Regions from separate parts of the Homo sapiens genome. Here region 2 is linked to region 1. Evidence: promoter capture Hi-C in 16 types of primary human blood cells and fetal thymus (Javierre and others, 2016). All regions are on one chromosome and are shown on one strand. Each heading gives the region's core, a stretch centred on a gene start or on the middle of the fragment in contact. The rest is flanking DNA. Distances are from core to core; before and after follow the strand shown.

Region 1 (2,820 bases), core at 220-2,719:
TTTCCTCTGTTGTAGTGGAGTTGAGCTATACATCCAACAATAATGAAAAAATACACGCATATATACATATATGGAGAGAGATACATATTTTAGTACATGTAGCAATTGATTAATAAATGTACAGTTTAAGTCGCATGCAAAACCTTGGAGTGATAGCAAACTTCATTGTAGGATGTTTAGCAGCATCTCTGGTCTCTACTCACTAGATCCCAATAGCATCTCCCTAGGTGTGACAACCAAAAATGTCTCCAGGCATTGACCTCTGGAGGCAAAAAAAGCCCTTTATTAAGAACCAGTGGTATACATAAGTAAAACATACACAAGAGATTCCTCCCCTCTTCTCTGTATGTGAATAAAAATTGCAAAGTTCATGACCTGGATTTTCCTTTTAGGTTTCTTCTTTAGTGGTTCTTAACTTCATTGGGTGAAGTAAGCCTTTGAAGATCTGTTGAAAGCTGTTGACTCATTCACTTCTCAGGAAAACGCACATGCTGACTACCATTTCAGAGAATTTGCATCAGGGTTCTCTGGGGAGGAGTTCTGAGTTCTGTTTCCAGGAGCTCGTAGAATTGTCATGGTCTGCATATGCAAGGCAGGTGGATTACGGAAGGTTGATGTACAGAGGTCTGTATTTTGGAGCCTCTTCTGTATTTACTTCAGAACACTAACAATCAGGCGAGAATGTTCTGGTTTATCAAACCCTTCCTTCTGCCTTTCATCTTAACCATGCATTAGTTTTAACAAAGTTCATCCCAACAGAAGACAAAACACTGATGAGGTAGGATAGCTCCAGCTCCTCCTCCCTCTCTTCTAGTCTTGATTTCCATGTAGTCCAGTTTATTCCTTCCCTGATTGTCCAGGAGAATGAGAAAAAGAAAAAACAGAGTCTAGTGGGTAAGAAAGGGCCACCTGGACGGCTTGATTTGGATTGTGAAATAAAACACACACACATGCACACGTAGAATAAGTGGCTAAAATCTGAGTAAATCGTGAACTCTCTGTATCCTCCACCCATTGAATACTCCTAAAAGACTTTCTAGAAATTCAAGGACTTATTAATATAGAAACCTGGCCATTGTTCCTCTTCTCCTCCCCATGTGGTATGAGAGCACCTGTGGCAGGCTCCCAGAGACCACGGACCTCTTCCTCTAGGCGGGCTCTGCTCTTCTTTAAGGAGTCCCACAGGGCCTGGCCCGCCCCTGACCTCGCAACCCTTGAGATTAGTAACGGGATGAGTGAGGATCCGGGTGGCCCCTGCGTGGCAGCCAGTAAGAGTCTCAGCCTTCCCGGTTCGGGAAAGGGGAAGAATGCAGGAGGGGTAGGATTTCTTTCCTGATAGGATCGGTTGGGAAAGACCGCAGCCTGTGTGTGTCTTTCCCTTCGACCAAGGTGTCTGTTGCTCCGTAAATAAAACGTCCCACTGCCTTCTGAGAGCGCTATAAAGGCAGCGGAAGGGTAGTCCGCGGGGCATTCCGGGCGGGGCGCGAGCAGAGACAGGTGAGTTCGCCCTGAAGATGCCCACACCGCCCGGCCCGGGCTCCACTCCCGGGGAGGCCTCGAGGGTTGCGGATGGGACTCTTAAGTGGTCACGGATCAGGTGGGCAGGGGGCAGTACAGCTTTCTTTCTGAGACGCCGAGAGCGAACAGGCTGCTCGGAAAACAGGACGAGGGGAGAGACTTGCTCAATAAGCTGAAAGTTCTGCCCCCGAGAGGGCTGCGACAGCTGCTGGAATGTGCCTGCAGCGTCCGCCTCTTGGGGACCCGCGGAGCGCGCCCTGACGGTTCCACGCCTGGCCCGGGGGTCTGCACCTCTCCTCCAGTGCGCACCTGGAGCTGCGTCCCGGGTCAGGTGCGGGGAGGGAGGGAATCTCAGTGTCCCCTTCCAGCCTTGCAAGCGCCTTTGGCCCCTGCCCCAGCCCCTCGGTTTGGGGGAGATTTCAGAACGCGGACAGCGCCCTGGCTGCGGGCCATAGGGGACTGGGTGGAACTCGGGAAGCCCCCAGAGCAGGGGCTTACTCGCTTCAAGTTTGGGGAACCCCGGGCAGCGGGTGCAGGCCACGAGACCCGAAGGTTCTCAGGTGCCCCCCTGCAGGCTGGCCGTGCGCGCCGTGGGGCGCTTGTCGCGAGCGCCGAGGGCTGCAGGACGCGGACCAGACTCGCGGTGCAGGGGGGCCTGGCTGCAGCTAACAGGTGATCCCGTTCTTTCTGTTCCTCGCTCTTCCCCTCCGATCGTCCTCGCTTACCGCGTGTCCTCCCTCCTCGCTGTCCTCTGGCTCGCAGGTCATGGCAGCGCCAGGCGGCAGGTCGGAGCCGCCGCAGCTCCCCGAGTACAGCTGCAGCTACATGGTGTCGCGGCCGGTCTACAGCGAGCTCGCTTTCCAGCAACAGCACGAGCGGCGCCTGCAGGAGCGCAAGACGCTGCGGGAGAGCCTGGCCAAGTGCTGCAGGTAGCGGCCGCGCGGGCCTGCGTAGAGAGAAGCGGAGCGGGGCGTCCACGCCTTGGGGAGGGAAGGGCGTCCCCAGCGGGCGAGAGTGGGGTGCGGGCGGCGGAGCCCCTGGGCGCCAGCTGCTTCTCCCAGAGGCCCGACTTTCGGTCTCCGGTCCTCCACGCCGCCCTTCTGGTGGGAGGGTGGCTCCATCAGTCTCGGGCCCGAAATGAACTTACCTGGGAAACTCGCCTTTGGGGAGAGTGGGTTCTAGGAGCCCCGTCTCTCTTTTTCCTCTCTGAAGGAAACTTGGAGTGCCTCTTGGGGTACAGTGGGTCCCTGTTGCCTTCTTGGGAGCTTGTTTAAATGAAATGAATAGGGAAACCCAGCTCTT
Region 2 (3,087 bases), core at 152-2,651, 430 kb before region 1:
GTGTGTACATGCTGGGTGTGGTCTGGACTCAAACTCCAGCTGGCACTGTCATCTTCCATTATGAAGGGACCCCTGAACTGAGCCCATTGCCCTCCCCTGCAGCCACTGCCCCTAATTGGAACTGAGGCCCTCTGTGGCTATTGCAACCTACTGGCTTTTGGCTGTTTGGCTGCCTGTTTTTCTTGTCAACTCACGCCTGCTCTTTATTGGGTAATGTTTTAGTACATTTTTTTATTACTTTTTAGCTCCATGGTTATTTTCAAATGGGAAAAACAATGCAAGAGAGATTTAAAAATAGTATTTGACTTTTCTGACTATAAAAATAAAATAAGGCAGAAAATTTAAAAAAAATAAAAACCCTAAAAAAAACCCCAAGTGACAATCTTAGTCAAAGATATTTTCATGTTTTTCCTTTTTGTCTTTTATTCTCCATTCAAACAAATACTTTTATTCATTTATTTTATATTTTGGGACAGGGTCTCACTCTGTCACCCAGGCTGGAGTGCAATGACCCAATCACAGCTCACTGCATCCTTGACCTCCCTGAGCTCAGGTCCTCCCACCTTAGCCTACCGAGTAGCTGGGACCACAGATGTGCACCACCATGCCTGGCTAATTTTTCTATCTTTTGTAAAGACAGAGTTTTGCCATGTTGCTGAGGCTAGTAGATGCTATTATTTTAAAAATAGTAGAGGTCGGCTGGGCATGGTGGCTCTTGCCTGTAATCCCAACACTTTGGGAGGCCGAGGCAGGCAGATCACCTGAGGTCAGGAGTTTGAGACCAGCCTGGCCAACGTGGTGAAACCCCGTCTCTACTAAAAATACAAAAATTTGCCGGGCATGGTGGCAGGGGCCTGTAATCCCAGCTATTCGGGAGGCTGATGCAGGAGAATCGCTTGAATCTGGGAAGCGGAGGTTGCAGTGAACCATGATCATGCCATTGCACTCCAACCTGGGGGACAAAAGCGAGACATCATCACACACACACAAAAAAACAATAAAAAAAATAGTAGAGGTCATACCATATACTGCTTAGTCACCTGTTTTACCTAGTGATGCACTAGGGAGTATTTTTCATTTTACCAGATATTAACTAATAATATTACTGTTAATGTCTGCATATATTTGATCCTATGAATTTAGCATATTTTATTCAGGCAATCTCCTACTGACTACCATTCAACTGGTTTTGGTTTGATTGAGAGTCTTTGGTGAGGAGACCCATGAACAAGTGCCAAGGTCTAACTTGGATGATGCCTATTCTTTGTCACAGCCCACAGCACAGATGGAAGAAGTGCACATATTAATAAGAGTAAGCTTTTCACTGCAACTGCTCAGGACTCATTTTAAAGAAGAGACAGATCTCTAACAAGATTTTGCAGGTAGGTAAAACAGAGGGCCTATAATTAGGTTATTAGAATAAAGATGGCTCTGTACTGATTTACTCCTCTCTAGGAAGGAATTTGGTAGGACCCGCCACATGGGTAAGCTTTCTCAAGTCAATTCTCTTTACATGACAACTGCAAAGAAGCTGGCAGGGCCAGGGCTTTCCCAACAATGGTGCGGGGCAGAGGCCGCAGCACATGCTCACATCTCTCTTCTTCTCATCTGATAGGACTGAAAACATTCTTTGTAGACCAGGGCTGGATTTGAACCCCTTAATATATTATACTTCTGTTTTATTTCTTGATCCAGTTAATCCTAATCCTACGCTTTTTATAAAATAGTTGTATCAGTCCCATCAAACAACTGAGAAAGCACTAGGATTAATTCAGTAGATTTCTGTAGATTCAATATAAATATAGAAATATAATGGTATATAGAAAAATACCTCTGTTGGAATTTTTCAATTAACTCAAGCTATGAAGGATACTCCATAGGCAAGAAACAATTATTCTTATGTGCCTGAGGCCTTGGGAGCTAAGACGTCATCTGCAGGAGGAACCTCAGAGATACCAGAATCCCAAGAGAAAAGGGTATAAATCTTCACAGTTTGTGGAAAGGAAAAAACTTGGCTCCCTGTCACTAGAGCAACTAAAGTTCAAGAGTTAAGGGCCTCGTGAGAAATCTGAGAAATGGCTGGATGCAGGCCATGAGTGGGTCATTAAACTAATTTAGTGGGTTAAAATAATCAAATGAAATAGAAATGTTAGAGGTTATCACATGAAGTAAGGGTACTTACTATTTCATGAACCATACATATGGGTGTCCATGTATATGTATATAGATTTGAGTGTGTTCATGTGTTTGCATACAAGTATATGCCAAATATCAATAGAAAGTATCTTTTACTGTGGGTCATGGTCAAAAGTTTGAAAACTGTTACGCCATAAGAAGCTAGATATAAAAAAAAAAGTAGAACTATTAAAATTATACATTGATCAAGCGATTCTTGATTCTATAAATAGGTATTAGAAGGTGTCACCCAAACTTTAAATGTTCCTTTAGAGATTCTTTCTCTCATGTGAGAATTGGAAAGGGTTGGCAGAAAATTTCCATCTTAAATGGCTTAAAATAGATGTCTTAAGTGAAACTTATCCTCAGACCTTGTATCTCCATACTATGACACAACTTTAAGAGTGCTTACATGAAGGTCATCCTGCCTCAGCAAACAGGAAACTTAGCACTATTTTTTTTTGGGGCGGGGGGTGTGGGTGGTGGGCGGTAAAGGGTCTCAGTCTGTCACCAAGGCTGCAGTGCAGTGGCACAATCTCGACTCACTGTAACCTCCAGCTCCCGGGTTAAAGTGATTCTCCCACCTCAGCCTTCCAAGTAGCTGGGACTACAGATGTGTGCTGCCATGCCTGGCTAATTTTTGTACTTTTTGGTAGAGATGGGGTTTCACCATGTTGGCCAGGCTGAATTAGCATTATTTTATACATGCACGTGCAATAATGCAATAAACAACTAAACATGGGACTGGGGCTATAAAAAATAATAGCCTAGGCCAGGTGTGGTGGCTTACACCTGCCATACTTGTAATCCCAGCAGTCTGGGGGGCTGAGGCGGGCAGATAGCTTGAGCTCAGAAATTCAAGACCAGGCTGGGCAACATGGTGAAACTTTGTTTCTACAAAAAAATATAAAA

Evidence for each region. Contacts are between HindIII fragments. The CHiCAGO score rates a contact against its expected background, and 5 or more counts as called.
Region 2: a fragment that was not itself captured here is called in contact with the fragment with the promoter of SLC26A4 in region 1 in 1 of 17 cell types (total CD4 T cells); the score reaches 5.1 in total CD4 T cells.

What each region holds. Positions count from the first base shown.
Region 1 is chr7:107,659,359-107,662,178 of GRCh38, forward strand. It overlaps SLC26A4 (solute carrier family 26 member 4), which reads left to right and starts at 1,470. Exons shown (of 21, transcript NM_000441.2): 1 at 1,470-1,497; 2 at 2,281-2,447. The coding sequence starts at 2,284. It overlaps SLC26A4-AS1 (SLC26A4 antisense RNA 1), which reads right to left and starts at 2,440. Exons shown (of 2, transcript NR_028137.1): 1 at 2,244-2,440; 2 at 1-848. The HindIII fragment of the contact is 14,838 bases long and covers 1-2,820 here.
Region 2 is chr7:107,225,064-107,228,150 of GRCh38, forward strand. All of the region lies in intron 19 of COG5 (component of oligomeric golgi complex 5), which reads right to left. It overlaps LOC124901721 (a long non-coding RNA gene), which reads left to right. Exons shown (of 3, transcript XR_007060472.1): 2 at 1,274-1,382. Among named protein-coding and RNA genes, the nearest start is that of HBP1, 58 kb to the left of the region's middle. The HindIII fragment of the contact is 172 bases long and covers 1,316-1,487 here.